4 separate regions of the Homo sapiens genome follow, and regions 1, 2 and 3 are each linked to region 4. Evidence: promoter capture Hi-C in human tissues and cell types (Jung and others, 2019). All regions are on one chromosome and are shown on one strand. Each heading gives the region's core, a stretch centred on a gene start or on the middle of the fragment in contact. The rest is flanking DNA. Distances are from core to core; before and after follow the strand shown.

Region 1 (2,700 bases), core at 125-2,624, 160 kb before region 4:
GTCAATAGATAAATGTAAAAACTGTACATGACAGAAAATACCATAATCAAAGTCAAAAGAAAAATAGCAAACTGGAAAAATATGTTTATAACTCATATCATAGAGAGGGCCAATCCCCTGATACATAAAGTCCTAGAAACTGATTTAAAAAAAAAATCAGCCAGAAACCCAGTAGAAAAAGGAGCACAGAATGTGAAGAGTAGCTGGTCCACAGAGAAGGAGCACCAGTGGCTCCTAGACACGGACTCACAGGAAGGCAGTGCAGTTCCAGACAGCACTCAGAGACACCTGCCATTTTTCATCTCTCAGACCCACAGAAAGCCAGCGTTTTGATTTTTTTATTTAAAAAAATTTTTTTAGAGACAGAGTCTTGCTGTGTCACCTTAGGGGCTGGAGTACAACCTTGAACTCCTGGGCTCGAATTGTCCTCCTGCCTCAGCCTCCTGAGTAGCTGGGTCTACAGGTGCATGCCACTCTGCCCAACTAATTTTATTTTTTATTTTTTCTGTAGAGACAGAGTCTCACTTTGTGGCATTTATACAGTTTTGTATTGCAGCATTTTTGTAGTAAAAAGATAACAATAATTTATGTGTACATTGATGGAGTAACAAGTTAATTATGTCACTTCTACATTATACAGAACTAAAAGGAAATTCTATCTATGTATTGATATGAAAAGATCACTAAAGTACATTGTTAAATTAAAAGCAAGGTGCAGAAAAACATGTACAGCACACACCCTATTTTGTGGGGTAGGAGGAAGAAAACGTGTGTGTGTGTATGTGAGTGTGTGTATGCATGCATGCACACGTAGTGTATCAGCTTCTACAGAATGTTCTAAATTCTCTGGAAGGGCAAATAAGAAACTGCTATGAGTAGTGCCTCTTCGAGAGAACAGGAACTAAGCAAATGGGGTGGCATGAGATGAAAACTTTCTTTATACCTTGTTTATACTTTTGAATCGTGTGAATGTATTCATGTTCAAAAAAATATAGTTTATAAAAGCATTCAGTTAATAATCAGCAGAAACCAGAAACTAAAATCAGAGCTCTCCGCTCATGAGGAGTAGAAGTGATTACAGACATCAAAAAGAATCCTTTTTACAGTTGGGCTGGCAAATAATCCAGTTAATGATGGGACCAAAAATAGCAAATTGGTAAATTAAAATCTTGACTAATCTGGCTCTGGCAGCATAGTAATGATTGAAATAGCCCCAAAATAAGCTAGTTCCTTGAGGAAAGAAAGCCTGTTTATAGAGCTCCATATGCTCCATGATATAGCTGTGGCAGGCTCAATTGTGAAAAACACTATGAAGAATATTTTTGGAAGGGAATTTTTTTCATATTGTAATAATGCATCATTAGAACCTTTGCATTTATAGGCTCAGAGGGAAGTTATTGAGAAGCCTCCTGGCTCTTCTGTGGTGCCGAGCCCTCCCCCACCCCCACTGCTCTTTCTGTAGCTGACCTTTTTCCTCATCCTCTCCTTCACTGACATTTTCCTCCTTATTCCTTTTCTCTACCCTATGAGCTATAAGTAACAAATAGTTAATAAAATTAACAGGTTGTTTCATCCTTTCTTCTTGCTGCCTCTTTACTCATTGGAATAAACCCCCTCATTTTATCATTTTTCAGAATAAAGCTTAGAAAAGGCAAAAAGTGTAATTTTTAGTAAACTTCACATAGGGCTGTGTTCAAGGGAGCGCTTAGGATTATTGGATAGTAAAAGTAGTCTATATTTGTGATAAACTAAATTAATTATCTGGGAAAGAGAAATAATTATCTTGCTTTAAGTTCATAAATTGCACATATATACCAACCTGCAAATGTACCTTGATGCTTTCCGTAGCAGTAGCCACGAAATACTGTTAGGGAGTTTCTGGAATACAGCATTATTCAATGTTAATACAAAAAGATCCTGTGACTTTTAAATGACCCTGAATTTAGGCTGTCTCCCATTTCTGGTAGAAATGCATTAAAATGTAGCTCATGGACTTCCCCCTTTCCCACACTTTGTTCAAGGGCATGAAGACGTCTGGCAAGCAGGATGAGGCCTGGATCATGAGCCGGCTGATCAAACAACTCACAGACATGGGCTTCCCGGTAACTGGCGTCGTAGTTTACTGCTACCCACCATGCTTCCCAAAATGAAATGCCCTCATTGTTTCCTCTCCATGTTTGTTATGTGTGTCAGAAGACACCAAGATTGTTTGAGGAATGAGATATTGACATCATCTAACTCTTAAATCTCCCTTTTACCTGGGTAGTTTGGGTTAGAGATCATTGCTTTGAACTACAGCAAAGACCCACACAATTTCTATCAAAAAGGGTGTGAGAGCCTTTTCCTAGAATAGAAAATGCTTTTTTTTTTTGGAGACAGGGTCTTGCTCTGGCACCTAGGCTGCAGTGCAGTGGTGTGATCAAGCAGTCCTCCTGTCTCGGCCTCCCGAGTAGAGCTGGGACTACAGGCGTGAGCCACCATGCTCGGCTAATTTTTGTATTTTTGGTAGAGACGAGGCTTCACTGTGTTGGCCAGGCTGGTCTCGAACACCTGGGCTCAAGCGATCTGCCCGCCTCGGCCTCCCAAAGTGCTGGGATTACAGGCATGAGTCACTACGCCCAGCCGGAAAATGCTGTGTGATTTTTAATTTTCATTGGTTTATACAGTTTTATGTTTACTTTTAATTTATAATTAAACGTG
Region 2 (2,700 bases), core at 108-2,607, 190 kb after region 4:
ACGTTTGCTCGTGAGAGTGGCTCTGGCTTGCTGCCCTGGCCGGCTGTAGTGCACAGGGTGGGGCGTCGGTAGAGCCAGACCGTGGGCTGCTGCCTGGACGCCTCGCTGACATCCCTGTGCTGCGGTTACAGAGCTGCGCCCTTCTAGACTCTGGAAGTTGAGTAACAGGACCTGCTCTGCCCACCCAGGAGGGGCCTGCCGCTTCACCAGAGGCACCAGTGGGGTCCCACAGTCACCTGAGGTACCCCTGGACTGTCTTGACGCCTAGAGGTCCGGGCAGGGGGTGGCTGCCATTAAAGGTGGGGTCTTTGCTGAGTGACCTTTTGTGTCCTGGATCCCTCAGGGCCTGGACTGCACTCCGGGTGGGGTCAGGCTCCCGAGGCCCCTGCTCTCTGGTTCTGGATGTTGTGGGTAGTTCTGTTGCTTTGGATGGCTGGGCCTTTGGATGGTGGCTTGTGGGGAAGGGACGGTGAGGAGTCAAAGATGAGCCAGGACCCATGTGGCCGGCACATGCGCTAGTGCCGGCATCTCATGTGTGCAGCGTGGGCTCCCTTAGTGCCTGGCACCTTAGTGCTCTGCTAAGTCTCATTGTTTAAAAATGTGTAGTTTATCTGCAGCTTTTCCTAGTTATTTTAATTACTTTTCATTTTATTTGAATAGTGTGTGCAAATGTAGAGAGTAAAACAATACTGCGGCCATTTCCTGCCCTCCCTTCCCCCAGGCAGCCACTCTTGGCTTGTTTCTTCTGATGTGCACACGTGTCCGTATTTCTAAATAACGTGCATATCCTGCTGTCTTCCCCCAAAATGTGTACTTAACCAAAACAGCACCAGTGTCACTCCTGAAACAAAAATTACCAAGAATGTCTTAGTATCATCAAATACCTAAATGGTGTTCACAATTCCACTTGCCTTAAAATTAATTTTTTCGATTATTTGACTTGAAGTCCAATTAAGGACTACACCTTGTGATTGTTTTTTCCCTAGCAATTTATTTTTTGAAGAATGAACTTTATTTTTATTGGATCTACTTAAAACATTTTTGTGTCACCTAGTAGCAGGGGATTTTGAATACATGTCATGTGTGTTTATAAAGCCAGCTCTCCATATCCCCCAGTGTCTCCAGGAGCTGCTTTTGTGACCTCACTGCCTGATCTCTTTATCATCTTCAGGTGCTTGACCCTTGCACAGAGAGAAGCTTCCTGGGCTACAGGGCATGGCAGCCTGTCCTTTCGGGGAGTGAGATTAGATTTAGTCCCTGCACTTTGCCTCTCTAGAAGCAGCTTCTCGCCTTTCCCTCCCGAGGGCTGGCAGGAGTCACTGTCACCCTTCATGGGGTCTGAAAGGTTGCATAGGCTCACCTGGTCTTAGACAAGGACAGTTGCAGCTTCCGCACCAGGCAGACCTGCAGTTTGAGTGGCTGGGGATAGGTGGAGCGGCGGCCTGGCCACAGTGCCCTGGACAGCAGCACATCACATCAGTTAACACTGTTTGCCTTCCAACTAGTTATTACGGTGTCCTGTGGGACAATTAGACTGGAGGAGCCAAAGGAATGTGCAGGGGCACTGGGTTTCTGTTTGGAGAGAGGCTCTCGGTAAACAGAGTTCGCATTCCTCCAGATTCTGTGGGACCAGAGTAAATATCATTATGCCACAGCCAGGCTTAAGCAATCTATCTGCAGTGCCGTTCCCGCAGCGCACACTGCTCCCTCTGTCTCTGCTGATGACCTTCGAGGCTGTCCTAGGCAGGTTCTCCCTGAGGAGCTCCCCACACCAAGCCTCCCTAACTCTGCAAAGCAGCCGGAGCAACAGAGAGCAGCGGGCGGCGGGCGGCGGCCGCCGCAGTCCTCCCGGCTTTCTAGGTGCGCGGGGCTGTCGTGTTCCAGTCCCTGTGTTCCCCGTCGCTGGAGTGCAGCTTAAGTGCGAATCATTTCTTGGAAAGTTTAGAGATAATTTTGTCAACTACCCACAATATGTATGTGTGGACTAGATTACTTTCTTATTTCAGGATCTAAAGGCAAAATGGAAAAACGTCACATTTTGTGGTTATTACCAGGGACTGAAGTGAGTTGCCCGGTGGCCCCTGGTGGCTTTAGCTCCCCTGGTCACCTGAAGGGCTGCAGTGACCCCTCCTGGCCAGCAGAGGTATTGGCCCAGCCAGGCTGGGGGAGGCTGAAACTGCTTCCCTTCTCTGCAGCCACAAAGGGCTGGATTCCTTGGGCGCCAGGAGGGGAGGATTTTTCTTTTCCCTCCGATAGCCCTACTGGGCGCTAAGATTGTTGTGAATCATTACCCTCAGAATTTGGACTTTCTAGATGCTTCTTAACCCATGATTTAGGTGAGTAAACTTGGAAAAATGTTTTTGCAAAACTTGATGATCAAGCTGAACGTAGAACGATATTCCTAATGGGTGTGTTTGCCTTTTTTCCCCCTTTTGAGACAGGGTCTCACTCTGTCACCCAGGCTGGAGTGAGTGGCATGATCATGCCTCGCTGCGTACTTGACCTCATGGGCTCAAGCGACCCTCCTGCCTCAGCCTCCTGAGTAGCTGGGACCACAGGCACATACAACATTCCCAGCTAATTTTTTGTATTTTTGATTGATAGAGATGGTTTTGCCACGTTGCCCAGGCTGGTCTTAAACTCCTGGGCTCAAGTAAGATTGCCGTCCTGGGATTAGAGGCGTGAGCTGCTGCAGCGGCC
Region 3 (2,700 bases), core at 102-2,601, 210 kb before region 4:
TGGTGGAAAAGCATGGTCAGAGATGTGAGTTCTAGTCCCAGTGGTAGCTGGGTCAGTCATCTCAGCCATATCATCTCGGTTGCCTGAGTCTGTGCAGATGAGGGTGGGACTGGATGATTTCTAAGGTTCCTGTCAGCTCAAATTCTTTGCTTCTGAGTCCTTGCCTAATTGTTTCCATCAGGTTTTGAGTTCTGGTGCATTTTCTTCATTTCGAGTCTTTTAAAAGGCAAAATGACAAGTAGAAGTACAAGTGTAGTTGGCACTCCTTATCTGTGGCTTCTGCATCCATGGATTTAACTAACTGTCAATCAAAAATATTTGAAATATAAATGGACAGTTGCATCTGTACTGATGCAGTGCATGTACTGTACATGTGCAGACCTTTTTTTCTTATTATTCCATAAACAATACAGTATAACAGCTATTTATATAGCATGTAAATTACATTAGGTATTATAAGTAATCTAGAGATTATTTAAATATATAGGAGAGCTGGGCATGGTGGTATGCACCTATTGTCCCAGCTATTTGGGAGGCTGAGGTGGGAGGAACACTTAAGCTCAGGAATTCAAGTCCAGCCCACCCTGGGCAACACAGTGAGACTCCGTCTCTAAAAAAAAAATTAAAAATTAACAACATAACGTATGCGGGAGGATATGCGTAGGTTATACGCAAATAATAACCTGTTTTATAACAGGGACTTGAGCATCTGTGGATTTTGGCATCCAAGGGGGTTTCTGGAACCAGTCCCTCTTGGATACTGAAGGATGACTGTACTTTGACTTTTATAGTAGCTAGCCATCCAGTGTCAGTTATTTACAAAAGAGAAACTGGGTTTTTCATCACAAAAATTTCTGTAGCTTGCTAATAGTTCTCTTTTTTTATTCCTTCCTTCTCCTGCTCCTCCTCCTCCTCCTCTTCTGCTGCTACTGCTTTTGAATTTTGTAGTAAAAGAACCAATATTCCTAGCTTCCCAAGAAGCACTTGTTGAGTCTAGAATAAAACTTTTGAGCTGGGCACAGTGGCTCATGCCTGTAATCCCAGCACTTGAGAGGCTGAGGTGGATAGACTGCTTGAGTCCAGGGGTTCAAGACCAGCCTGGGAAACATGTCAAAAACCCATCTCTACTAAAGATACAAAAAATTAGCTGGGCATGGTGATACACATCTGTCGTCCTAGCCACTTGGGAGGCTGAGGTGGGAGGATCACCTGAGCCCGGAAAGCCAAGGCTACAGTGAGCTGTGATCATGCCACTACACTTCAGCTTGGGCAACGGAAGTGAGACCCTGTCTCAAAAAACAAACAAAAAAGCCTGGCCGGGCACTGTGGCTCATGCCTGTAATCCCAGCACTTTGAAAGGCCAGGGTGGGTGGATCACCTATGGTCAGAAGTTCAAGACCAGCCTGGCCGACATGGTGAAACCCCATCTCTACTAAAAATACAAAAATTAGCCAGGCATGGTGGCGGGCACCTGTAATCCCAGCTACTTGGGAGGCTGAGGCAGGAGAATCACTTGAACCCAGGAGGCAGAGATTGTGCCATTGCACTCCAGCCTGAGCATCAAGAGCAAAAAAAACACCGTCTCAAAAAAAAGCAAAAACAAAAAAACCTTTTGAGGCAGATACATTAAAGTGTGTGAAAAAATAATTGTTAGTATGCTAATTGTAATTTTAAAACACATTGAGTGGTTCTAAGTTTACCAGACAAGTGTCTATGTATTGTGCTCTCAGTTTTATTTGGAAAGTTTGCTATTGTGAAAGAGACAGCAAGTTTTCTTCTCTGTTGTGGGTTGTATTTCCATTTTTTATTAATAGGCTGTATTATTTAGAGCAGTTTTTTTTGGTTTTTTTGTTTGTTTGTTTGTTTTTTTGGAGATGGAGTCTCTCTCTGTCTCCCAGGCTGGAGTGCAGTGGCCCGATCTTGGCTCACTGCAAGCTTCGCCTCCCAGGTTCACGCCATTCTCCTGCCTCAGTCCCCCAAGTAGCTGGGACTACAGGTACCTGCCACCACGCCCGGCTAATTTTTTGTATTTTAGTAGAGACGGGGTTTCACCATGTTAGCCAGGATGGTCTCAATCTCCTGACCTTGTGATCTGCCCACTTTGGCCTCCCAAAGTGCTGGGATTACAGGCGTGAGCCACCGCGCCTGGCCTATTTAGAGCAGTTTTAAGTTTACAAAACAATCGAGCTGAAAGTATAAAGTTCCCATGTATTCCCTCTCCTCACCACCACTAGTTTCCCATATTTGTGTGGAACATTTGATACAACTGATGTTCTAGTATTGATACTTTTTTTTTTTTAGGACAGAGTCTTGCTCTGTTGCCCAGGCTGGAGTGCAATGGTGCGATCTCAGCTCACTGCAGCCTCTGCCTCCAGGTTCAAGCAACTCTCCTGCCTCAGCCTCCCGAGTAGCTGGGATTACAGGTGTGCGCCATGACGCCCAGCTAATTTTTGTATTTTTAATAGAGACGGGGTTTCACCATGTTAGCCAGTGTGATCTCAAACTCCTGACAGGTGATCCACCCACCGCAGCCTCCCGAAGTGCTGGGATTACAGGCATGAGTCACCGCGCCCGGCCAATACATTATTATTAACTAAATGCCACAGTTTACATTAGGGTTCACTCTTTGTGTTATATATCTATGGGTTTTGACATGCACAGTATTGTGTATCTGTCATAGCAGTTTCCCTGCCCTAAAAA
Region 4 (2,700 bases), core at 125-2,624:
GAGAGGCTGGGCTTGGTGGCTCACACCTGTAATCCCAGCACTTTGGGAAGCCCAGGCAGGAGGATCACTTGAACCCTGGAGTTTGAGTCCAGCCTGGGCAACATAGGGAGACCTTGTCTCTAAAAAAATAAATAGAGTGAGAGAGAGAAGGGGAAGTCACCGGGAGGACACACATGGAGCACGCAGCCCAAATGGGGCTCCTCTGTTCTCCCTGCAGAGTCAGTTCGTACCTTTCACATGCACAAAGGTGTTGATCCAACCGAAGCAATATTGATTCTTGTTATATTGCTTTATTGTGGGGTCAGTGTCAGAGTACCACGAGTTTTCATCACGCACCGTTCTTTCCCCAGCTGCAGTGTGTTTAGGGGGGGAACGAGGCCCCACCCCCTATCCCTATCGCCTCTGCCTTTATAACGGCTGCTACTCTCTGAGCACCTGTTGAGTTCTTTCACCTTCCAGATCTAATGTGCTATCCCCACCCCTAGAGAACAGGGCTGCTGGATGCCACATGGCTCCCAGAGAGGGGCTGTGGTCAGGGAAGCCCCAGCTCCAAGGGGGCTGGAAAACCCCAGAGCTGCCCACGTGCGGCAACACAGTCTGGTGCTGCAGGTGTGAGGACGGCTACAAAATACCTGAGCCATTCTGTCACTCTGTCTGAACTCTGTTTGAAATATTGTTTCAATAACTGCTAGGCTGGTTTTTCCTTCCTGACTATATTCCTCAAACCAACAAGAGCCTAGCAGAGGAAAGCATGGCCAAAACGCCCCAAGAAGAGAGCCTTGGCTTCACCTCCAAGGGCCACCATCCGGGAGGATGTCCTCAGACCTCTGATCCCCTCTCTGCAGGCTCTGCCCAGCCCTGTGTGGCAACCCAGAGGAAGCCTCCCCTTCGTTTGAGATTTAACCCCAGACCTTAGGCGATGGCTGCCCAGCCTGTCCCTTCCGCCTGTGTGGCTGCCCACGCGGGCGTTGCTCATGGGGCTAGTCCTGGGTGGATGGGTGGGGGCCTCTCGCCGGCTCCTCTGCCTCCCACCCCCACTGGCACCCCACGCCTGTCCTAGAAGGTTCTTTCTGCCTGTTTTCTCCGTGAGTGACTGGACAGGCAGAGGCCGGCCTTGCTGGAGGGGGCATTTGTAATTATGAGTGAATCCAAAACAAGGTTTTTTCCTTCCGCAGCCCCCCGCCCGGCTGTGGGGCCCAGCCACTGCACTTCACCGGATGCCGTCTGGTTGGTCCTCAGGACTGATACAGACCAGGACCCCAGGGCCAGCCCGTGCCAGGCTCCTATGCTTCCAGGAGCACGGGTGGGTGGTCCTGCTGCCTGGCCGGCCATCCTCCTGGGGTCGGTCTCTGGCCGATCCTCCCTCCTCCTCTCAAGCCCTGCACAGCCCGGCCAGGCAGGTGCATCTTGTTTGGCTGCTGAGGAGCCGGGGGTTCAGGGAAATTAAGGAACGTGCCCAGGGACCCGGGGCCAGCCCGTGGGGACGCTGGGATTGGAGCCCAAGCCCCAGGTTCGCCGCGCGGCTCTCGACTTCCTCTCCTTTCCCCCAGGGGCGAGCTCAGCGACCGCAGAGAGGTGGGGTCGATCTCCCTGCGACCCCAGGGGGCCCGCGAGGCCAGTGCGCGGGCAGGAGCGGGGACGTGCTCAGAAGAGCCGGGCGCCGCCGCGCCCGCCCGCCCCCCGTCCCCCGGCTCCCGGCTCCGCGCGCCCCCCGCCGCCCCCGGGGCCCTGCTACCCCCGACCCGTCCCCTCCCGCCGGCCGCCCCCATGGCCCGGCTGGGCGCGCTGCTCCTGGCCGCCGCCCTGGGTGCACTGCTCAGCTTCGCGCTCCTGGCCGCCGCGGTCGCCAGCGACTACTGGTACATCCTGGAGGTGGCGGACGCCGGCAATGGCAGCGCCTGGCCCGGGCGCGCAGAGCTGCTCTCCTCGCACTCGGGGCTCTGGCGCATCTGCGAAGGTAACCGGCCACCGCGCCGGCCCTCCTCCCTCCGCGACCTCGTCCCTCCGACACCCCCTTAACCCCGCCCTGCTCGTGTTGCCCCGCCAGACCCCCTTCCAGGACCCCTCTCTTGCATCCCGCTCTGCCCCAGGGTGTCTCTCCGCTCCCTCCCCATCACCCTCCGTCTTCCCCCAAAACTGACAGCCCAAGGGCTACAGGAGGGAGGGAGCCCAGTTCGGGGCCCCTCACAGCCGGAGGAGGGGGCTGTGGGGCGACAGTGGGGGAGGGAAGCCTAGAGGTGTGTAGTTGGGGGGCCTCATCCAAGTCACCAGGGGTTGTTTCTTGATCACGCTCCCCGGGGTTTGGGCCTGGCAGCCCCTTGTCCCCGTCCCTGTCAGGCACTGTCAGAGCTGTTCACCCCACACCTCCTGATGCCGCGGGGGCAGGGGTTCCAAATGTGTACAGAGGCTTCAGAGTCCGGGGAGAGAGAAGGGGATCCCAGCAGGCTGGAGGGTCCACAGGGCCCCCTCCGTTCCCCCCAGCTCCCTCCTCCGGAGCTGGGGCCAGCCTGGGGAGCTTCCCCTTCACAGCGCGAGGGCTGGCAGGGCAGGGGTGTGTGTGTGAGTGAGCATGTGTGTGCATCTGAATATGTGTGCATGTGCTGAACATGAACATGTGTGAGCACCTGGCTGTGTATGTAAATATGAATATGTGAGTGTGAGTGTATGTAGTTGTGTGTGCATGTGAATATGAGTGTGTGA

Evidence for each region. Contacts are between HindIII fragments. The study calls those that stand out against the background at their distance.
Region 1: a contact is called between a fragment that was not itself captured here and the fragment with the promoter of TMEM235 in region 4, in 1 of the 25 tissues and cell types used here (IMR-90 fibroblasts).
Region 2: a fragment that was not itself captured here is called in contact with the fragment with the promoter of TMEM235 in region 4 in 2 of the 25 tissues and cell types used here (bladder and dorsolateral prefrontal cortex).
Region 3: a fragment that was not itself captured here is called in contact with the fragment with the promoter of TMEM235 in region 4 in 2 of the 25 tissues and cell types used here (dorsolateral prefrontal cortex and spleen).

What each region holds. Positions count from the first base shown.
Region 1 is chr17:78,069,064-78,071,763 of GRCh38, forward strand. TNRC6C (trinucleotide repeat containing adaptor 6C) reads left to right here. Exons shown (of 23, transcript NM_001142640.2): 8 at 2,022-2,102. Among named protein-coding and RNA genes, the nearest start is that of TMC6, 58 kb to the right of the region's middle. The HindIII fragment of the contact is 3,903 bases long and covers 1-2,700 here.
Region 2 is chr17:78,420,083-78,422,782 of GRCh38, forward strand. The region is part of intron 9 of PGS1 (phosphatidylglycerophosphate synthase 1); the gene reads left to right. Among named protein-coding and RNA genes, the nearest start is that of PGS1, 43 kb to the left of the region's middle. RefSeq lists enhancers at 1-194, 2,468-2,700. The HindIII fragment of the contact is 3,716 bases long and covers 1-2,700 here.
Region 3 is chr17:78,022,514-78,025,213 of GRCh38, forward strand. The region is part of intron 3 of TNRC6C (trinucleotide repeat containing adaptor 6C); the gene reads left to right. Among named protein-coding and RNA genes, the nearest start is that of TNRC6C, 65 kb to the left of the region's middle. The HindIII fragment of the contact is 6,361 bases long and covers 1-2,700 here.
Region 4 is chr17:78,230,257-78,232,956 of GRCh38, forward strand. TMEM235 (transmembrane protein 235) reads left to right here and starts at 1,375. Exons shown (of 5, transcript NM_001395503.1): 1 at 1,375-1,957. The coding sequence starts at 1,768. The HindIII fragment of the contact is 13,022 bases long and covers 1-2,700 here.